Linked DNA regions of Homo sapiens: all the other regions are linked to region 2. The links are contacts of gene promoters, found by promoter capture Hi-C in blood cells and fetal thymus (Javierre and others, 2016). All regions are on one chromosome and are shown on one strand. The core of a region is centred on a gene start or on the middle of the fragment in contact, and the rest is flanking DNA. Distances in the headings are between cores, read along the strand shown.

The links. The method cuts DNA at HindIII sites, captures the fragments that hold promoters and counts their contacts. A CHiCAGO score of 5 or more calls a contact.
Region 1: a contact is called between a fragment that was not itself captured here and the fragment with the promoter of ZCWPW1 in region 2, in 1 of 17 cell types (endothelial precursors). The highest score is 5.7, in endothelial precursors.
Region 3: a contact is called between a fragment that was not itself captured here and the fragment with the promoter of ZCWPW1 in region 2, in 1 of 17 cell types (activated CD4 T cells). The highest score is 5.6, in activated CD4 T cells.
Region 4: a contact is called between the fragment with the promoter of GAL3ST4 here and the fragment with the promoter of ZCWPW1 in region 2, in 2 of 17 cell types (neutrophils and total B cells). The highest score is 5.4, in neutrophils.
Region 5: a fragment that was not itself captured here is called in contact with the fragment with the promoter of ZCWPW1 in region 2 in 4 of 17 cell types (total B cells, naive B cells, non-activated CD4 T cells and 1 more); the score reaches 7.3 in total B cells.
Region 6: a fragment that was not itself captured here is called in contact with the fragment with the promoter of ZCWPW1 in region 2 in 1 of 17 cell types (total B cells); the score reaches 5.7 in total B cells.
Region 7: a contact is called between a fragment that was not itself captured here and the fragment with the promoter of ZCWPW1 in region 2, in 2 of 17 cell types (total B cells and neutrophils). The highest score is 5.5, in total B cells.

Annotation. Positions count from the first base shown.
Region 1 is chr7:100,832,466-100,835,469 of GRCh38, forward strand. It overlaps a transcript of SLC12A9 not described here. Among named protein-coding and RNA genes, the nearest start is that of EPHB4, 6.4 kb to the left of the region's middle. RefSeq lists an enhancer at 2,812-3,004. The HindIII fragment of the contact is 4,427 bases long and covers 1-3,004 here.
Region 2 is chr7:100,427,263-100,430,282 of GRCh38, forward strand. It overlaps ZCWPW1 (zinc finger CW-type and PWWP domain containing 1), which reads right to left and starts at 1,441. Exons shown (of 18, transcript NM_001386010.1): 1 at 1,306-1,441. MEPCE (methylphosphate capping enzyme) reads left to right here and starts at 2,569. Exons shown (of 4, transcript NM_019606.6): 1 at 2,569-3,020. The coding sequence starts at 2,757. RefSeq lists silencers at 919-968, 2,789-3,020 and enhancers at 1,129-1,358, 2,379-2,518. The HindIII fragment of the contact is 9,299 bases long and covers 1-3,020 here.
Region 3 is chr7:100,135,437-100,138,459 of GRCh38, forward strand. No RefSeq gene overlaps it. Among named protein-coding and RNA genes, the nearest start is that of MBLAC1, 10 kb to the left of the region's middle. RefSeq lists an enhancer at 2,396-2,455. The HindIII fragment of the contact is 6,909 bases long and covers 1-3,023 here.
Region 4 is chr7:100,167,053-100,169,880 of GRCh38, forward strand. It overlaps GAL3ST4 (galactose-3-O-sulfotransferase 4), which reads right to left and starts at 1,565. Exons shown (of 4, transcript NM_024637.5): 1 at 1,494-1,565; 2 at 1-231. The coding sequence starts at 43. GPC2 (glypican 2) reads right to left here. Exons shown (of 10, transcript NM_152742.3): 10 at 2,554-2,828. The HindIII fragment of the contact is 24,826 bases long and covers 1-2,828 here.
Region 5 is chr7:100,083,120-100,086,213 of GRCh38, forward strand. No RefSeq gene overlaps it. Among named protein-coding and RNA genes, the nearest start is that of ZNF3, 2.9 kb to the left of the region's middle. The HindIII fragment of the contact is 4,834 bases long and covers 1-3,094 here.
Region 6 is chr7:100,108,382-100,111,307 of GRCh38, forward strand. It overlaps AP4M1 (adaptor related protein complex 4 subunit mu 1), which reads left to right. Exons shown (of 15, transcript NM_004722.4): 15 at 1-658. It overlaps TAF6 (TATA-box binding protein associated factor 6), which reads right to left. Exons shown (of 15, transcript NM_139315.3): 10 at 2,758-2,926; 11 at 1,819-1,893; 12 at 1,567-1,692; 13 at 1-159. Among named protein-coding and RNA genes, the nearest start is that of AP4M1, 8.2 kb to the left of the region's middle. RefSeq lists a silencer at 2,245-2,472. The HindIII fragment of the contact is 8,380 bases long and covers 1-2,926 here.
Region 7 is chr7:100,017,502-100,020,692 of GRCh38, forward strand. The region is part of intron 1 of ZKSCAN1 (zinc finger with KRAB and SCAN domains 1); the gene reads left to right. Among named protein-coding and RNA genes, the nearest start is that of ZKSCAN1, 3.5 kb to the left of the region's middle. The HindIII fragment of the contact is 2,409 bases long and covers 447-2,855 here.

The DNA.
Region 1 (3,004 bases), core at 356-2,855, 410 kb after region 2:
TGGCACCACTGCACTCCAACCTGGGCAACAGAGCGAGACCCCATCTCTAAGCAAAAATTAATCAGCCATCCTAGAGGAAAGACAGAGAAAGAATAGAAAATAATATTACAAAATCATCATATGAAGAGATGGTCAAAGAGTACACATCTAAGAAAAAGGTAGTAAATGCAAGTATTCCAGGGCTATATCAGTCTTCTTTACTATAAATGTTGTTATTTTTCTAGCTTGTATAATATTTATGATATTTGTCATATTTTAAACATTTGAGGTCAGCTGTGATTTCTTCTCTCAATCCAAAGATTTTATACCTTTTTTTTTCTTTTTTTAAGAGACAGGGTCTCCCTTTGTCACCCATGCTGGAGTGCAGTGGCACGATCGAGGCTCACTGCAGCCTCGAACTCCCAGGCTCAAGCGATCCTCCTGCCTCAGCCTCCCAAGTAGCTGAGACTACAGGCGTGTGCCACCATGCCTAGCTAATATTTTTAGTGTTTGTACAGACAGGGTCTCACTATGTTGCGCAGGCTGGTCTTGAACTCTTGAGCTCAAGTGATTGTCTAGCCTCAGCCTCCCAAAGTCCTATGATTACAGGTGTGATCCACTGCACCTGGCCTGGCTAATTTATTTTATTTTATTTTTATTTTTTGTAGACATGAGGTCTTGCTATGTTGTCCAGGCTGGTCTCAAACTCCTACCTAATTCTAGCACTGTGTGAGGCCAAAAAAAAAGTTGAAAAAAAGGCTGGGCGCAGTGGCTCACACCTGTAATCTTAGCACTTTGGGAGGCCGAGGCGGGTGGATCACCTGAGGTTGGGAGTTCAAGACCTGCCTGGCCCGTCTCTACTAAAAATAGAAAAATTAGCCAGTTACAGTGGCACACGCCTGTAATCCCAGCTACTCAGGAGGCTGAGGCACGAGAATTGCTTGAATCCAGGAGGCAGAGGTTGCAGTGAGCCAAGATTGTACCACTGCACTCCAGGCTGGGTGACAGAGCGAGACTCTGTCTCAAAGCAAAGCAAAACAAAACAAAAAGCAAAAAAACAAAACAAAACAAAAAAAAACAGACAAGGTATGGTGGCTCATGCCTGTAATCCCAGCACTTTGGGAGGCCGAGGTGGGAGGATCACTTGAGCCCAGGAGTTCCAGGCCAGCCTGGGCAACATAGTGAGACCCCAGCTCTAAAGAAAAAATAGCTGGGTGTGGTGGCTCACACCTATAATCCCAGCACTTTGGGAGGCTGAGGTGGGCGGATCACGAAGTCAGGAGATCGAGACAATCCTGGCTAACATGGTGAAACCCCATCTCTACTAAAAATACAAAAATTAGCCGGGTGTGGTGGTGGGCACCTGTAGTCCCAGCTACTTGGGAGGCTGAGGCAGGAGAATGGCGGGAACCCGGGAGGCGGAGCTTGCAGTGAACCCAGATCACGCCACTGCACTCCAGCCTCAGGTACAGAGCGAGACTCTGTCTCAAAAAAAAAAAAAAAAAAAAAAAAAAAAAGAAAGAAGGAAAAATTGAAAATGGAGGACACCAAGTCATTTTCTACCTTCCAGGATTAGACAAGTCAGGGGTAGAAACAGCCACGGGGCCTCACCAGCATCCAGGTGGCTAAGCGCACAGCCTAACTTGTGGTGCACAGAGGACCCTACAGGATCACGCAGGAAGCACAGCCGATGCAGGTTTCAGGTGAGCTTTCTGCAGAAGGTGATGATGTCTGAATGAGTCCTAGAGATTGGCAGGAAAGGAGTTTAAAGGCAGAGTTGTGAGGTCGCCCCATTCAGAGAGCTGCCAGAGTTCACAACGCCAGGTCAGAGAGGGCAAGGACAGTGACCATGGGTGAACTGGAGAGGTGAGTGAGGGCCAGCCTCAGGTCATTACGGGTTTTTGCAGGACTGCTCTGGGGAGCTAGTGAAGGGTTTTAGGCCAAGAAGCAACATTGCATGGTTTGTAGAGAAAGATCCCACTTATACAATTTTGGAGAATAGACTGAAAGGAATGAAGACTGAAGGCGGGGAAACCAGTGCAGCATCCAAGTGACTATGTGGGTTTGAACCCAGATAGGCGTGTATGTGTGAGTGTGTGTGTGTTGGGGGGGATGGTGCACGCATGTATGGAGCCGGGGAGGATTCAGGAGATAAGGGTTGGGTGCGGTGGCTCACACCTAGAATCCCAGCATTTGGGAGGACGCAGCTGGCAGATCACTTGAGACCAGGAGTACAAGACCAGCCTGGGCAACATGATGAATCCTCATCTCTACAAAAATTAGCCAGGCGTGGTGGAGCACGCCTGTGGTCCCAGCTGTTCGGGGGGCTGAGGTGAGAGGATCACCCGAGCCCAGGAGGCAGAGGTTGTAGTGAGATTGCACCACTGCATTCCAGTCTGGGCAACAGAGCAAGACCCTGTCTCAAAAATAAAAATAATGGGCTGGGCACAGTGGCTCACGCCTGTAATCCCAACTATACAGGAGGCTGAGACAGGAGGATTGCTTGACCCCAGGAGGTGGAGGCTGCAGTGAGCCGCCGTGATCACACCACTGCACTGCAGCCTGGGCAACAGAGTGAGACCCCGTTTCAACAAAAAAAATTAAAATAAACAAACAAAAGAGTGTGATTGGCCGGGTGCAGTGGCTCACGCCTGTAATCCCAGCACTTTGGGAGGCCAAGGCAAGTGGATCACCTGAGGTCAGGAGTTTGAGACCGGCCTGGCCAACATGGTGAAACCCAGTCTCTACTAAAAACACAAAAATTAGCTGGGCATGGTGGTGCGTGCCTGTTATCCAGCTACTTGGGAGGCTGAGGCAGGAGAATCGCTTGAACCTGGGAGGTAGAGGTTGCAGTGAGCTGAGATGGTTCCACTGCACTCCAGCCGGGGCAACAAAGCGAGGCTCTGTCTTTAAAAAAAAAAAAAATGCCGGGCGCGGTCGCTCATGCCTGTAATCCCAGCACTTTGGGAAGCCGAGGTGGGCAGATCCCGAGGTCAAGAGATCGAGACCATCCTGGCCAACATGG
Region 2 (3,020 bases), core at 191-2,690:
GCTTTCTTCCTTCGTGTTTGTGCACAAGCTCAGCAAGCCCGATTTAAAACTTTTAACAAGAAAGAAGAGGCGGGTGGATCACCTTAAGTCAGGAGTTCGGGACCAGCCTGGCCAATACGGTGAAACCCCGTCTCTACTAAAAATACAAAAAAATCAGCCGAGCACGGTGGCGCGTGCCTGTAATCCCAGCATTTTGGGAGGCCAAGGTGGGCGGATCACCTAAGGTCAGGAGTTCGAGACCAGCCTGGCCAACATGGAGAAACCCCGTCTCTACTAAAAATACAAAATTAGCCGGGCACAGTGGCGGGCGCCTGTAGTCCCAGCTCCTCGGGAGGCTGAGGCAGGGGAATCGCTTGAACCCAGGAGGTGGGGGTTGCAGTGAGCCGAGACTGCGCCACTGCACTCCAGCCTGGGCGACAGAGCGAGACAGTCTTTAAAAAAAAAAAAAAAAAAGCCCCAATTCCAAATCCACCTGCAATCCAAAGGGAAGAAGTTTTGCAGAGAAGTTCTTCCCATTTGTGGGGCGCTCCCATTTTTCCTCTCTTCCCTCACCCCTTATTCTCTCTCAGGGATAGCGGTTCAAGTCGGTGTCCCTGAGCCACACGTCCCCCTCTCTCTTCCCCGTCCCCTCCCTTCCTTCCTCCCACCATGAGGGAATCTCCCCTCCACCCCCACTCCTGCCGAGGCCCCGTGATCCTTATTCTCACTCATATCGTTGGTGCCCGCCAGGAGACTGGGCTATTTTTTTTTTGTCTGTTTCTTGGGGGCGACAGATTCTGAGGAAAAAGGGCGAAGGGCTGGTTGTCGCCCTGAGAAAGTTTCTCCTCAGGCAACGGGTGCCAGGACTGGCAGCGCCTAGCACCTTCACCTACAACCAGAAACTAGCTGGCTACCTTCAGGAGCAAGGAGGACCTAAAGGCGATGGGCGGAACCAGCTGCCGCAGCGACTCCGCAAGCCCCTCACACCTCAACCCAGGTTTCCCGCCACCAAGAAAAGGCACGAGGACGCCCTGAGCACTAGCTCCACCCGAGGGCGGTGCGCTCGCGGGGCCGAGGCGCATGCGCAACTGGAAACAGCGTCTGCGTTTCCGCAGCTGAGGTAAATCCGCCATCTTCCACCCGAACGTCCCGGGAAAACTACAAATCCCAGAATCCTCTTTGGTGTCACATATTTTTAGGCGGCGGCCGCGGCGCCTGATTGTTCCTGAAGCACATCTACTAACTTTTCTGTTTCAGACTGCCTTTTCCTCCCTCTTTCCGTTCTCTAATTCCTCCTCTTCCTGCTGGTCTCCTTCACGCCCTCACCTTAGGATTTTGAGACTCTCCTGGACCCCACTGTCACCCCTGCCGCCCTGTCCTCGGCCCAGCACTCCGCTGGCAGGGAGACCGGGCGGCGCATCTCCCCGGGAAAACGGCGTAGACTCGCTTCTTCCTCATTGGCAGAAGCTGGGGGGGCCCAGCGCGGACCGAACCCCCGTCCCCGCCCACACTCGCTGGTATATAAGTCGGCGTGGCGCCGCGGTGGGTGTTGAGAGGCCCGCGAACTGACGGGCCAGTGAGCGGGCGTCGGGAGTGGGCGGATGCGTTGGGGTTCGGGTCGTGGGTGTTGAGGCGGAGAGGAAGGCGTGGTGTGGCGTCTCCAGGTGATTGCGATTGGGGGAAGGTAGAGGAGCCAGAGAACGACTCAGCCGTTTCGGGGGAAGAGGAAGTTGGACAACATCGGCTGTTTTAGTGCTTTTTATTTTTCCCCAATTCAGCAGAGAATATTTTCAAGGGGGGTGAGTTATAATGACCTATCGCGTTTTACTGAGCCCAGTTCCACTCCCGCCCTTCCTTGGCTTTGTAGGGTCTCCCCTCCGCTCCCTCGGAAGCGCTTCTAAGAAGGTGGGCAGAGGGGGGGAGGTTTGCTACCAACAGCTCATGAATAATTCATGAGCCCCGCCCTTCGTCAGGAAGCCCCGCCCCTCCGGATCGCGCTGACGCACGCTGCGTTTACCAAACTTAAGGAAGCGACGTCACAGGCCCAACCCCTAAGACGGGGGGCGGGGCGCCAGTTTCAGCACGTGCTGCCTCTACCCGCGCAAGCCCAAAAGGGTGTGCGCAGGCGCTGCCCACTAGGGGGGAGGAAGGAGGCGGGGTGGGGAGGTTGTTGGATTTAGAGCCGGGCGGAGACCGCTGAGACTCATTCCTCAGGAACAAGGGTCGGGTGTCAAGGAGACCTTTTCACACCAGCTCCCGTCCCCCGCCTACGGTGGGTGGGATCGCGCGGCAGAGACAAAGGAGATCAGTAGGGCCGGACATAGCTGCGCAGGGAAGTAGGGTGTCAGTTTGGGGTGGTGGGCTTTTGCGGGGGCTGTGGGGGGGTTATATTTAAACTCCCAGAGCCGTTAAGTTGGTTCGTAGTCTGATGCGCGCGCAACCAGGGTGGTGGCGGAGTGCGCATGCGTGGTTCCCGGGCGAAGGGAACGCGCGCTCACCGTGCGCGCTCGCGGCCGGGTGGTAGTGGCGGAGGAGAAAGGGGTCGGCGCACGCGCGGTTGAGTCCTCGAGTAGTTCGGGTCTCGCGGGCCTCTTGTTTTGGTCTCGCGGGCTAGTAGGGCGCACTTGGCGGGGAGGCGCTTGGGCGCGAGACTAGGCGTGAAGAGCAGAGCTGCGCGCGCACTCGGGAAAGGGGGGAAGGGAGCAGGGTCCAGGCAGGGGGGGTTAGGCCCCCTGATCCCCCTCGTTACCCCGACTGGCACGGAATAAGGGGAGGAAATGATCGAGATGGCGGCGGAGAAGGAGCCGTTTCTGGTGCCGGCCCCGCCGCCGCCGCTCAAAGATGAGTCGGGCGGAGGGGGCGGCCCCACGGTGCCACCGCACCAAGAGGCCGCCTCTGGGGAGCTCCGCGGCGGGACGGAGCGTGGTCCGGGTCGTTGCGCGCCATCTGCGGGGTCCCCAGCCGCTGCGGTCGGTCGGGAAAGCCCCGGGGCCGCGGCCACCTCCTCCAGTGGTCCCCAGGCGCAGCAGCACCGAGGGGGC
Region 3 (3,023 bases), core at 403-2,902, 290 kb before region 2:
TTTTTTTTTTTTTTTTTTTTTTGAGACGGAGTCTAGCTCTGTTGCCCAGGCGGGAGTGCAGTGGCGTGGCGTGATCTCAGCTCACTGCAACCTCCGTTGTCCAGGTTTAAGCAATTCTCCTGCCTTAGCCTCCCGAGTAGCTGGGATTACAGGTGCCCACCACCACGCCCAGCTAATTTTTGTATTGTTAGTACAGATGGGGTTTCACCATGTTGACCAGGCTGGTCTCGAACTCATGACCTCAGGCGATCTGCCCGCCTTGGCCTCCCAAAGTGCTGGGATTACAGGCATGAGCCACTGTGCCCAGCCCCAGATCATGATTTTAATCCATACTGATTGCTTGACAAATAGAAGAAATACACTGCTCCCTAAACCTGAGTCTGTCCATGTGTCTGTTTCCCCTGCCTACATTTTCTTTCTGAAATTTAAATCCCCTTCCCCCATTGCAGGATACTCCTCAACCCTTGCTCCCCTCCCTCTGTAAGTCCCCAAAGCCTTGTGTCCTCTTTTCATAAAAAACTCACAGGGTAGCGTCCTGGTGATGTTTCACCTACTGCCAAAGTACAGCATCTGAAAATGTGTGGAAGATGTGGCTGGTCAAGCACCCAGAAGGAAGTTCAGTGGGGAGAAAGGCAGCTGCCTGAGGAAGGAGAGAACCACACTTCTTAGTAGAGTAAATGTAGAGTCTGGGAATGCAAGCGCAAAGAAGGAATAAGGCTGCCGGCAAGAGGAACCTAATGACTGTGGAACTTAATGGTCCAGACCCCCAGGAAAAGAATAATCACCTCCTCCTCCCACTCACCCACCAGAAAGCATTTTTGTTTGTTTGTTTGTTTGAGACGGAGTCTCATTGTGTCACCCAGACTGGAGTGTAGTGGCGCCATGCAACCTCCGCCGCCCGGGTTCAAGCGATTCTCCTGCCTCAGCCTCCTGAAGAGCTGGGATTATAGGCACACGCCACCACACCCAGCTAATTTTTGTGTTTTTGGTAGAGATGGGGTTTCATCATGTTGGCCAGGCTGGTCACAAACTCCTGACCTCAAGTGATCCGCCCGCCTTGGCCTCCCAAAGGTCGGATTTACAGGTGTGACCCACCACGCCCAGCCCAGAAAGCCTTTTCTACTGGATATCTGTAGAAGAAAGCAATGCCCTGGGGAGAGGGTTGCGTTTCTCTGCTTTCTAGAAAGAAACTGGACTTGAAGGCAGTACCTAAGTATATAAAGAAATTATGCAGGGATGGATGGTATATTGAGCTCTATGGCTTGAGCTCAGGAGTTTGAGACCAGCCTGGCAGCAAAGTGAGACCCTATTACTACAAAAAATACAAAAATTAGCTGGGCATGGGGGCGCACATCTGTAGTCTCAGTTACTCAGGAGGCTGAAGTGGGAGGATCACTTGAGCCCAGGAGTTGGAGGCTGCAGTAAGCTATGATTGCACCACTGCACTCCAGCCTAGGCAACAGAGCAAGACCCCATCTCAAAAAAATAAACAATTAAAAAATTAAAAAGTTGCTTCATGTGACCAATATGTTTTTTATTTTATTTATTTTTTTTCTGGGACGGAATCTCCCTCTGTCGCCCAGGCTGGAGTGCAGTGGCGCGATCTTGGCTCACTGCAGCCTCCACCTCCTGGGTTCAAGTGATTCTCCTGCCTCAGCCTCACAAATAGCTGGGACTAAGGCGCATGCCACCATGCCTGGCTAATTTTTTTTATTTTTAGTAGAGATAGGGTTTCACCATATTGGTCAGGCTGGTCTGGAACTCCCGCCCTCAGGTAATCCGCCTGCCTCGGCCTCCCAAAGTGCGGAGATTACAGGTGAGCCACTGCACCCGGCCACAGCAATATGTTTAGACTTACGTTTTCTAGCAGCAAGGCCAACACTAAAGGTTATAAGATGTTTTCTTGCTTTTTAAAATTTGTTCTTTCTTTTTTTTTTTTTAATTATTTTTTTTGAAATGGAGTCTCACTCTGTCGCCCAGGCTGGAGTGCAGTGGCGCAATCTCGGCTCATTGCAAGCTCCATCTCCCGGGTTCGCGCCATTCTCGCCTTGGCCTCTGGAGTAGCTGGGACTACAGGCGCCTGCCACCACACCCGGCTAATTTTTTGTATTTTTTAGTAGGAACGGGGTTTCACCGTGTTAGCCAGGATGGTCTCGATCTCCTGATCTTGTGATCCGCCCGCCTTGGCCTCCCAAAGTGCTGGGATTACAGGCGTGAGCCACCACGCCCGGCCCACTTTTTTTTTTTTTAAACACATATATTTACATATTTTTTTCTAGTGCCAAAAGTAAAATGTTTTATTTCCCTGTAAGGTAAGATACAAATTTGTCTGGAGAAAAAGTCCTGTTAACTAAAATATTAATACAAGGTACAAAGACGAAAGTAGAGTTGTTTGGAGAAAACTTGAGATAATAGAGTCCCTGAGGGTAAAGTAGGGTCATTGTTGCAAAAACTGAGGGAGGAAGGTTGTGCTCAAGGGTTTATAAGGTAGTGGTTCAGCATGCTGGTTTCTTTCCAGGTCAGTAGGTTCCATCATAAGCTGTGGTCACATTCAGCTACCTGTTCCATTGAGTGATCAAACAAGGTTGGGAGCTGAATACACACACACACAAAAATCTTCACCTGAAGCCATATCTAGGTGGTGACAGGCACCTGCTTTCCCCTAGGGTATATATTGCAAGTCACTGGCTCTTAGCCCTGCTGCTAGTCCAGGAAGTAACTTCGTGTGTCTAGAAACCTACACCTTCCTGAAGCGCGTTAGTCCCATCTGCCAGGAAATCAGCCTTCCAAAATGTACAAACCTTTTTTACAAAATAAAGCCTGAGCTTCAGCTGAGATGCTTTGGGAGAAATGAATTGTTCAGTTTTATCTGAAGCCATTTTTAGAAATTATAATGCACAAATCTGAGCCCGGTGTATGAAGTCCTTGGGGACCTTCTTGCTTTATTCTGCTGCCTCACCTCTTGCCTCATCCCATCCCCAACTCAAACATTTTTCTGTGTGATTTATGTTATACCTGGGCAT
Region 4 (2,828 bases), core at 315-2,814, 260 kb before region 2:
GTCCCCAGAGCCGCAGCGTCCTGGCAGGAGAGAGAGGGCCCATGTGGCACAGGGAAGGGTGAGGTGACAGAGAGATGGAGCCAGGGCCAGGAAGAGGGGCAGAGACAGCTGGAGACAGCCGTGCAGCTGCGGAAGGCACTGGTTGGAGATCGGGGGGTCATTCCCCAGGCCTGCTCACAGTCTTGGTTGAGTCTGCCCCCTGAGTTAGCAGATTTTTGCCTCTGTCAGCGTCTAGAAGGGAAATGAGGGGGGAAGAAGGGAAGTCTAAGGAGAGAGGCAGAGGCAGCCTTCTCTCCTGCTGCAGCTGAGACCTCCTTCAGGGAAGGGGAGTGGCTGGGGATGTTGTCTATACCCAGACTCTCCTAGGTGGCCCCACAACTACTGTCTCTGCTCTATCACTTTCTTATCTCCAGTTCCTCCCGCTCCCCACCTACAGTTGTCCCTGAGCCTTGGGGATTTATAAGGGAAGGAGAGAAAAAGCCCCAGCTCGTGAATGAAACAGCCAGCAAGAGAGAGAGAGATCAGATCAATCAGCTCATTAACACAGTCAGGTCAGACCATGGTCGGGAACCTGGTTTCCTCCAGAGCCCCTCTGGCTGTCACAGATGGGGATAAAGAGCCCTATCCCAGGACCAGGAAGGGAAGCCATACAGTGGGAATGAGGATCAGACAGGACACAGGTGTATGAACCCAGGCAGGAGGAAGGGAGGTTGGACTTCCAGGAGTGGCATTGCAATGGGTAAGAGCCATTGGGTTATAAATTCCCGCGCCTCTTTTTTCTCTGTCTCAGCACGGGGCAGACCCCCATGTATGACAGGGGCTGGGGGAGACGTGTGGCTACTTATAAAGCCCAGATCCCTGGACTTACCCACCATTCCACTTTCCAACCTTATCAGTGCACCCGGAGGAGACTGAAAGGGTGGGGCTGGAGAGGGAGACAGAAAGAGAGAGAGACACACACACACACACACACACACACAGAGAAACAGAGAGAGAGAGACAGAGGGACAGAGAGACTATGACACAAAGATAAGGAGAAAGGCGCAAACACTAACTGCAGAGTTCCTTCTGAAGCCCGAGCTTCCTAATCAACCGGGAGTCCAGCCCCGCCCCTTCAGATTACAACTCGCGATCAGGGACCACGGCCCCTCCAACAAGCCCCGACAGCTCCCTGCTCCGATGAGCCAGGGGTAACCCCAAGCAGAGAGAAGCCACACTTTTACTCCCGGAGACCTGCCCTCTCTGGCATCACTCCCCAATTCCCTCCCTGATCACAGCCCCTGGGGTCTAGCCGCGTCTCCCCTATCCAGAGTTCTTCATTTCCTTCCATCCATCTCTCCCTTCCCATGATTGGAGATCCCAGCCCTCTGTCCCCTCCAGCTTTGGTGACTGCCCAGTTGCCCCCGCTGGGGTTCCATGAACCCCTCATGTCTCCTCCCATAAATTAGAGGGTCCCTCCACTGGTCCTATCCTTGGTTTCACTTCCCACTCACCAGGCCACAAGGGGAGCAGCAAGGGAAATCGGGCCGGGCCCTCCCGCCCATCCCAGCCACCGCCCGACTCTTGGCTCAGCTCAACTTTCCCCAAGAACTTTCTCAGCGCCCAGGCTCCTCCCTCCTCCCTTTGTGCCGCCAGCCCCAGCAGCTGCTGCAGCTTTGATCGCGGTTCTAGGTCTCTCCCTCGCTGCATCTTCCCCTCTTCGGCAGGGCACCCAGACTCCTCTTGGAAGACACCACTTCCGCCCCCGCTTTCACACTTGGGAATCAATCCTACCATTTTCTCTTGGCTTGCCGCAGAACAAAAGATTCATTCAGGCGGTGGAAAGAAAGAAGGAAGGAAGGAGAAAGTGATATTTGAAAGCAGACATTGTCAAGGACGTGGCAAGGTAGCCAGAGACTGACACTCAGAGAACAAGGCCTCCCATCCTGAAGGCAGGGGGCAGTGGTGTGGTCACCTTAATAATGCTTCGTGGCCGGGTGCGGTGGCTCACGCCTGTAATCCCAGCACTTTGGGAGGCTAAGGCTGGTGGATCGCTTGAGGTCAGGAGTTTGCGATCAGCCTGGCCAACATGGTGAAACCCCGTCTCTACTAAAAATACAAAAATTAGCTGACTGTGGTGGCAGGCGCCTGTAATCCCAGCTACTCAGGAGGCTGAGGCAGGAGAATCATTTGAACTGGGGAGGCGGAGGTTGCAGTGAACTGAGATCGCGCCATTGCACTCCAGCCTCGCGACAACAGCGAGACTCTATCTCAAAAAAAAAAAAAAAAAAGCCTCATGTTCAAAGAGCATTTTGCAGGTGACAAGGTGCTTTTTCACACAGATTCTATTTGGTCCCCACAATTCTCCCTGTTGTACAAACGAAGATGCTCAGAGGCCCAGAGGGTGGGCAATTTGGAGATCAGAGGTTATTGTCTAGGCCCGCCTCCTGGGGGACAGGTGCCAAGGGAAGTGAAAAGCCGGCAGAAAATGAGCCAGTCACAGAGGCTCTGAGACCTCTGCTAGGAGCCAGGGCTCAGGCACTGATGGTGACAGCACAGAAGCCACACATGGGGTCCAATACATTACCATTTATTTGCAGAATAAACATGGACTCAAACACTGAAACATGGAGTTTGTGAAGGATGTGGGTGGCAGAGGTCACGAGATGAGCACCCCCCCACCTTGTTTTTTTTAAAATTTGGTTTAAGAAATTGATACTGAAAAAACTCAACAGAACCCAGGCCCATGAAGTCTCACATCCTACTCAAGCACCCTCAGTCCCCTGCCCTGCATCCAGCTGGTCCATTTCTGAGACCAGATGCCCCCACCCCTCCCCACTTCCAACTTC
Region 5 (3,094 bases), core at 342-2,841, 340 kb before region 2:
CTTTTGCAATAAATTACTCTATGCTGGATTTCCTTTGACATGTGTTTCTTTTATTCTTTTTCCTTTTTTTTTTTTTTTTTTTGTTGTTGTTGTTGTTGAGAGGGAGTCTCACTCTTGTCACCCAGGCTGATTCTCGTGCCTCAGCCTCCCAAGTAGCTGGGACTACAGGCGTGTGATACCATACCCGGCTAATTTGTGTGTATTTTTAGTAGAGACAAGGTTTCACCATGTTGGTCAGGCTTGTCTCGAACTCCTTACCTCAAATGATCTGCCGCCTCAATCTCCCAAAGTGCTGGGGTTACAGGTGTGAGCCACCGCGCCCGGCCTCCTGTGTGTTTCTTGTTTAAATTTTTTTTTTCTTTTGAGACGGGGGTCTTACTCTGTCACCCAGGCTGGAGTGCAGTGTTGTGATTTCGGCTCACTGCAACCTCCACCTCACAAGGTCAAGTGATCCTCCCACCTCAGCCTCCCAAGTAGCTGGAACCCCAGATGCATGCCACCACGCCCGGCTACTTTTTTGTAGAGACAGAGGGTTTTCACCATGTTGCCCAGACTGGTCTCAAACTCCTGAGCTCAAGGGATCCGCCCACCTCAGCCTCCCAAAGTGTTGGGATTACAGGTGTGAGCCACTGCACCCAGCCTTAAATCCTTTTAAACTAAGAAGATAAGAAATGAGGTATCACAATAGCCATCAATAGAAGGAAAGCACCTCATCATGTTCATGCTTTCCTCTGCCTTCTTCAACATATGAAGTCTTTTTTTTTTTTTTTTTTTTAGAGACAGGGTCTCACTCTGTCACCCAGGCTGGAGTGCAGTGGCGCGATCCTACCTCACTACAGCCTCAACCTCCTGGACTCAGGCGATCCTCCCTCCTCAGCTTCCAGAGTAGCTGGGACCACAGGCACGCACCATCACACCTGGCTTCCTTTCTGTTTTGTAGACTGGGTGCTGCCAGTTCATGAATCCCTAATAAAGCCAACTCAATCTTTAAAATTCAATTTGTTGGCCGGGTGCAGTGCTTCACGCCTGTAATCCCAGCACTTTGGGAGGCCGAGGCAGATAGATCACCTGAGGTCAGGAGTTTGAGACCAGCCTGGCCAACATGGTGAAACCCTGCCTCTACTAAAAATACAAAAACAAAAATTAGCCGGGAGTGGTGGCAGGCACCTGTAATCCCAGCTACTTGGGAGACTGAGGTGGCAGAATGGCTTGAACCTGGGAGGTGGAGGTTGCAGTGAGCCGAGATCGCACCACTGCACTCCAGCCTGGGAGCGACAGAGGGATACTCCATCTCTGTATATATATACGTATCCTGAAGTATGTTTATGGTCTGTTTCCTACAACTAGGGTATAAGCTCCATGAGGTCAGGACTTCGTTTTGTTTAGTGATGTACCTGCTGCCTGGTAGGCACTCCCAAATATTTGTTAAATTAATGACTGATAGGTGAATAGATAACCACTGACCCATACCAAAAAGGAGCACTTGCTTTTTGTTCGTTTTTGTTTTTGGGGTGGGGATATTTTTTTGGTTTGTTTGTTTGTTTGTTTTGAGACAAACAAATATGGCGAAACTCTATCTCTACAAAAAATACAAAATTTAGCCTGGCGTGGTGGCACGCATTTGCAGTCCCAGCTACTTGGGAGGCTGAGATGGGACAGTCACTTGAGTTCAGGAGGTTGAGGCTGCACTGAATTGTGATTGTAACACTGCACTCCAGCCTGGGTGACAGAGCAAGACTCTGTCTCAAAAACAACAATAACAAACACAAAACAAAACAAAAACAAAAAAAAAGAAACGTTTAGCAAACTTAGTTCTAAAATGCGCACAATCAACTGATTCAATGTCAAAGTCATCCTTAAATTCCACAATAATCTCTTGTTTTATGAGCTGTATAATTATCTGAACAATGTTTCAAAAGCACCTGAAACAACAAGGCAAAGGAGTTCTTTAATGTGTGAGAGAGCAGTGCAAACGATCAACTTTACTAACCCTAGAATAATTCTCATCTTGTTTTTATTTTAGCCTTCTATCTAGCTGAGAAGCACTATGCTCCTTGGAAGCTGCCTAGCATTCTTTAAAGAGAGACATTTTTCTGGCCAGGCACGGTGGCTCACACCTGTAATCCTAGCACTTTAGGAGGCCGAGGCAGGTGGATCGGTTGAGGCCAGGAGTCTGAGAACTGACTAGCCAACATGCTGAAAACCCATCTCTACTAAAAATACAAAAATGAGCCAGGTGTGGTGGCGCAAGCCTGATATCTCAGCTACTTGGGAGGCTGAGGCACAAGAATCACTTGAACCCAGGAGGTGGAGGTTGCAGTGAGCCAACATCTCACCAAAGAGATACATTTTTCTGACCTGGTTTTTCCAAATAGAAACAAGGCATTAGGTACTTTTCTTTGACAACCCTCTCAGTTTGTCCAGACCTGGTTGGTTTATCACTGGGGACTAGAATAAAATAAATTCCTTTTTAACTTCCCTTTGGCGAGAAGACCCCTCTTCCTGCAGGATTTCTCAAGTCCGTTCCATTGAGGGTTGCTGGCCCCTTCAAGTTTCCTTCATCCAGGCTCCTAAACGGAGAGATTGCATAATTCCCCTGTAAATTACAACTATCACCATATGGGGCTGTTCAGGGTCATAACACAGTTCTTCACCTGCTTTCTAGGAGCTTACACTTTGGGTGGGGATACAGACACCTAGAGCCAGAGTATGTCTGGCTCTTTCTAGGTGTCTGTACCCCTCTTTGTAGGGGTGGCAGGAGGAGCAGTGTGTGCAACTTGCTTAGGTTTAGGGGTAAGGAGGGGGTGGAGCAGCCTAGGCTAGCCAGATGTGAATTTTGGGTTTTTTTATGAGACAGAGTCTTGCTTTGTCAACCAGGCTGGAGTGTGGTGGTGTGATCTCGGCTCGCTGCAACCTCCGCCTCCCGGGTTCAAGTGATTCTCCTCCCTCAGCCTCTCGAGTAGCTGGGATTACAGGCATGCACCACCACGCCTGGCTAATTTTTGTATTTTTAGTAGAGATGGGGTTTCACCATCTCTACTGGTCGAGACCAGGCTGGTCTTGAACTCCTGACTTCAGGTGATTCACCCACCTC
Region 6 (2,926 bases), core at 363-2,862, 320 kb before region 2:
AGTGGTCCTGTTGACCTGCTGAGCCTGCAGAGCAGCCTGGGCCCGAGCCTTGACCACCTGGGAGCAGAGGAGGGGCCCAAGGGACCCGAATTCTGCCCGATAGGCGTCCTGATTGTCAGGCGGTGGGCGCAGCTTTGCCAGAACAGGAGCACAGTGTTTCTGCAGAACAGAAAAAAAGCCAGGTAGAGGGAGGGCTGGGGAAAAAAGCCAGGTAGAGGGAGGGCTGGTGACACTCTTGAGAAGAACCTTGGGGATGGGGTAAAAAAGGACATTCCTTATCATCTCAGTGCCCCTGTTGAAGGCCAAATTATGCTGAACTATTAGTGTGTGTACAGAACACTGTGGGCTTTCTCATAAGAAAAGATGGGCACGGGGCCAGGTGCAGCATCTTAGGCCTGTATCCCAGCACTTGGGAGGCTGAGGTGGGTGGATCACTTGAGGTCAAGAGCCTGGCCAAAATGGAGAAACCTCATCTCCACTAAAAATACAAAAACTAGCCAGGCATGGTGGCACGCACCTGTAGTCCCAGCTACTGGGGAGGTTGAGGTACTAGAATGCTTGAACCCAGGTGGTGGAGGCTGCAGTGAGCAGAGGTTGCATCAGTGCACTCCCGCTTGGGTGACAGAGTGAGACTGTCTCAGAAAAAAAAAAAAAAGAATGGCTGGGTGTGGTGGTTCATGCCTGTAATCCCAGCACTTTGGGAGGCTGAGGCTGGCAGATCACCTGAGGTCAGGAGCTCAAGACCAGCCTGGCCAATATGGTGAAACCCCGTCTCTACTAAAAATACAAAAAATTAGCCAGGCATGGTGGCGCGTGCCTGTGGTCCCAGCTACTTGGGAGGCTGAGGCATGAGAATTGCTTGAACCTGAGAGGCAGAGGTTGCAGTGAGCCTGAGATCGCACCACTGCACTCCAGCCTGGGTTACAGAGTGAGACTCCATCTCAAAAAAAAAAAAAGAAAAGAAAAAGAAAACATGGGCACTAATGTGTGAATGAACTTGCTAAATACTGTGGCAGGATGGTTAATCAAGAGCGCATTTGCCTTGTACAGAGAAGACCACAGAGTAACAGGAGCATTGGGGAAGGATGGTCCAAATGCCACAGGCTGAGCGTGTTAAACCCTTCTTTTTTGGGGGGCGGTGGTCTCCCTCTGTAACCCAGGCTGGAGTGCAGTGGCACGATCATAGCTCTCTGTAGCCTTGAACTCCTGGGTTCAAGCAATCCTCCCACCTCGGCCTCCCTAGTAGCTGGGACCACAGACACGTCACCACTCCCGGCTTTTTGGTTTTTTTTTTTGCAGGTGGGATCTCGCTACGTTGTCCAGGCTGGCCTCATACTCCTAGGCTCCCAGAGTGCTGGGATTACAGGCAGAAGCCATCATGCCCAGCCCCCTTATTTCTTACTCAGTCTAATCTCAGTCTTTCCATCTGTAAAATAGTATCAGACTCTGCAATGTCCTCTGAAAACATGAGGCAAAGATGGGAGTAAGTGAATAAAATATGCCATATGCTTGCTAAACACTGCCTGTGTCTCAGTGGGCAGGTGTGGGGACAGGGGCTTCAGTCACCAGCAGGAGGCTCTGCACATGGTCTGCTCCAATCCGGTCAATGTTGCTCAGCACAGGGCCGTCCAGCACACTGCGGATCCGCTCCCCTTCCTGCTGCAGCCGGGGCAGAATCAGAGTCTTGATAACCTGTTAGAAGGGAAAAGGACAAGCAAAAGCCGGAGGGTCACCAGGGTCTCCCAGATGGGGGTACAGTGCCCTCTATAACCTCATGACTGTGTCCCCTCCCCCATTTCTTCCTCCCAGAGGCCTAACATCGTGTCCCAGCTCAGCCAAGCCTGCGATGGAGCCATAACGAGTCGTCCAGGGCGTCTTCTCGTCCACCCAGCTCTGTAAGGGGAAGGAAATAAACTAAGATGAAGGGGTCTGAAAGGATGATTGACAGGGACCTAAGTCTTTCATAGACACTTTCCTTGTAAATCATTAAGACATTACAATGAGGCCAGACGTGGTGGCTCACACCTGTAATCCCAGCACTTTGGGAGGCCGAGGCAGGCAGATCACCTGAGGTCAGGAGTTCCAGACCACCCTAGTCAACATGGTGAAACTCTGTCTCTACTAAAAATACAAAAATTAGCCAGTTGTGGCCAGGTGCAGTGGCTCATACCCGTAATCCCAGCACTTTGGGAGGCCAAGGCAGGCAGATCACCTGAGGTCGGGAGTTCTAGAGCAGCCTGACCAACATGGAGAAACCCCGTCTCTACTAAAAACACAAAATTAGCTGGGTGTGGCGGCACATGCCTGTAATCCCAGCTACTCGGGAGGCTGAGGCAGGAGAATCATTGGAACCCAGGAGGCGGAGGTTGTGGTAAGCCAAGATTGCACCATTGCACTCCAGCCTGGGCAAGAAGAGCGAAACTCCATCTCAAAAAAACAAAAACAAAAAAATTAGCCAGTTGTGGTGGCAGGTGCCTGTAATCCCAAGTACTCAAGAGTCTGAGGGAGAAGAATCGCTTGAACCCAGGAGGCAGAGGGTGCGGTCAGCAGAGATTGCACCACTGCACTCCAGCCTGGGCAAGAGCGAGACTCCATCTCAAAAAAAAAAAAAAAAGGTATTACAGACAAGCCTCAAGACCCTTAGACCCCCACAAGTTCCAGTCCCTCTTCCCTCTGCCCCCTTGTTTCCAGTGTGACTTCCCCCAACCAGAGGTGGCCAGTGATGAAGCAAATGACGCTCAAGTTTTCCTGGCTCACCTTGGTGAAGGTCTTGGTGATCCGGGACTGGATGTTGTTAGTGGTTGTGCTAAAATGCTTGCAGATCTGGGCCACCAGGCGGGCAGCAAAGTCTCGGAGTGCCCAGTGATTGTCCACATCTGGTCGCAGGCACAACTGTCTGCTCACGATGCAGGTCATCACAGCTGGA
Region 7 (3,191 bases), core at 401-2,900, 410 kb before region 2:
CGTGAGCCACTGTGTGCCCAGCCTTTGTTTACATTTTCAAGACTATGCCCTGGAAAAATACTGGGCTGTTTGGAACACAGCCTTTGAGCTTGTAACTTCAAGCCGTTGTTTAAGAAAATCATTTCTGTTTATCCTAGGTGAGAACTGAGGTATCCTTAGCTGCTGGAGGTAATTTTATTTAAAGTGGATGGTATGTCAGTATGTTTTTCAGCCCATATTCACCCAGAGGTAGTTTCCTACTATCTGGAACCCCCACCCTACCCCCATTTGACTGATAAAGATACAAAATGCCAGAGAAGTTAAATACCTCTCTCAGGGATGTGCCACTTACTTGTGGGAGACTAGAATTCAGTTATTGCCTGTGCAGCTTTCACTATTACAGGAGTTGTCCCATTGCTTAATCTTCTAAGCAGGCTGAAAATTGGAATGTACAGTTACATCTTTTAAGCTTATTGAAAAAAATTAAGACATTTCTGTAGTGCCTACTAAATGCCAGGCACTATTTTAAGTGCTTTATATCTATTACCTCATTTAATCCTCACGGCAACTCTATGGGACAAATGCTGATTTTTATTCCCATTATACAGATGAGGAAACTGACGCATAGAGAGGTTAACTTGTTGACTTGCCTAAGGCCGTCAACTAGTAAGGGGTGGAGCAGCTTTAATGCTAACCTGAAACTCATCCAACTAGTCCATGGAACAAATTTGAGTGCAACATTGAATGTAGAATGATCGGGCTTTTAAAAAATAGTAACGTTGTCAATTCAGTCAAGTGTATTTTTGAAACTGAGGCTTGCAAGGAATCATGCTAAGTGGTCTAAGGAGTACAAAGAGGACTGCTCTTAATAATCTAGTTGAGGAAGAAGGCAAGAAAAATTACAGAGAAAGAAACATCATGAGAAATTTTTTTTTTTTTTTTGAGACAGAGTCTCGCTCTGTCACCCAGGCTGGAGTGCAGTGGCGCAATCGCAGCCTCCCGGGTTCACGCCATTCTCCTGCCTCAGCCTCCCAAGTAGCTGGGACTACAGGCGCCCGCCACCACACCCAGCTAATTTTTTATATTTTTAGTAGAGACGGGGTTTCATCGTGTTACCAGGATGGTCTCGATCTCCTCACCTCGTGATCCGCCCACCTCAGCCTCCCAAAGTGCTAGGATTACAGGCATGAGCCACTGCGCCCGGCGCATCATGAGAAATTACCTAGCAAATGTTTGGTGAAGAGTATTAGGGCCTTTAGAGACAGAAGAGTATGTGCTCAGATCATCTGGGAAACCTCAAATAAAACCCAGCCTTTCCACTGCTGTGATGGCTTTTCCCTGCACCCCAGAGTAGGAGCAGAGAGATACTGAAGGTGAGGAGGAGGATCTGTCCCAGTTGTGGGCAGAGGGAATGTGCCCATGTCTGTGTCTATTTCCCCCTGGACTCATTTCCTCCTTAGAGTCGCATCTTCGCACTGACCCAAGAAGTGTCCTGCTCAATAGCTAAGGCAGGATAAAACTTTCACAAAAGTAGGGATTTCTGGTGGCTGGGCTCGCTATCACACTAGTTCTGCTCAGTTACCATGTTTGAAGATCCCACCTGGTTATGTTGTAGACAGTCCCCACTTGAATCTTCTGCTGTGTCTCCTCCCTTTCCCAGGAAGGGCTTCAGTCACATAGTGACCCTCCAGTGAAAACTGGGTGGTAGATAAGGCCCGTTCCTGAGTGATTTTTTTTTCTCTTTGAGAAGGAGTCTCTCTCTGTCACCCAGGCTGGAGTGCAGTGGCGCGTTCTCAGCTCACTGCACCCTCCACCTCCCAGGTTCAAGTGATTCTCCTGCCTCAGCCTCCCGAGTAGCTGAGATTACAGGTATGTGCCACACATCCAGCTAATTTTTGTATTTTTAGTAGAGACGGGGTTTCGTCATGTTGGCCAGGCTGGTCCCGAGCTCCTCAGCTCAGGTGATCGACCCTCCTTGGCATCCCAAAGTGCTGGGATTACAGGCGTGAGCTACCGTGCCTGGCCCTGATTGATTCTTCATTGTCACGTTCATAGGCCTTCATTTTAGGATCTGTATACCCCACATGTCAGGTACAAGATAAATTTTGTATAATGGTTAAAGAGTTTACATTGGGGAATCACTTTTATTTCAAATTCTGCCTCTACCATATACTTGCTGTGTGACCTTGAGTAAGTTATTTAATGGCAGTATATCTCAGTTCTTCTTTTGTTTTTTTTTGAGATGGAGTCTCACTCTGTTGCCCAGACTGGAGTGCAGTGGTGTAATCTCAGCTCACTGCAGCCTCCGCCTCCCAGGTTGAAGCAACTCTCCTGCCTCAGCCTCCCGAGTAGCTGGGACTACAGGCATTGCACCACCACACCTGGCTAATTTTTGTATTTTTAGTAGAGATGGGGTTTTGCCATGTTATCCAGGCTGGTCTCGAACTCCTGACCTCAGGTTATCTATCTGCCTTGGCCTCCCAAAGTGCTGGGATGACAGGCATGAGCCGCTGCGCTCAGCCTCTCAGTTCTTTATACAGTGAGATGATAAGTGTAGCTACCTGCTAAGATTGTTATGTGGTCAAGTGAAAATGCTTAAATACCCGGTACCTAGAAAGCACTCAGTAAACATTGGCTCTTACTGTTATAGTTATGAGAGGGTTCTTGAACAGTGATAAGAGGCAAGTCGCGTTTTAGCTAGCTTTAAAGGTTAAGTAGGATTTGAAAAGGCAGAGAGGACTGCGGGGGGAAGTCCCAGGCATGGAGTGTGATGTGAGGAAAGGATGGCAGTCAAAATACAAGGCATATATAGGAAATACTGATGAGAGGGCTTTTGTTGCATAGGGAAGGTTTATGGGGGGATTGATGGGAAAAGAAGCTTGAGGGAAAATTGGGACCAGGCACTGGAAAGTATTAACTGCAAGGCTGTAGAGTTTTAGAAAGAATAATCTGAAAGGTGGATTGTGGGAGAGAAGGGAGAAAATGAAGGCAGGGAACCAAAGAAAGGAAGCTGGACTTCATGGAACTAGATTAAAAAAAATAAGTATGGCCTGTAATCCCAGCTACTCAGGAGGCTGAGGCAGGAGAATTACTTGAACCCGAGAGGCGGATGTTGCAGTGAGCTGAGATCATGCCATTGCACTCCAGCCTGGGCGATAGAGCAAGACTCCGTTTCAATATATATGTATATATAATTTTTGTGCTGTTATATG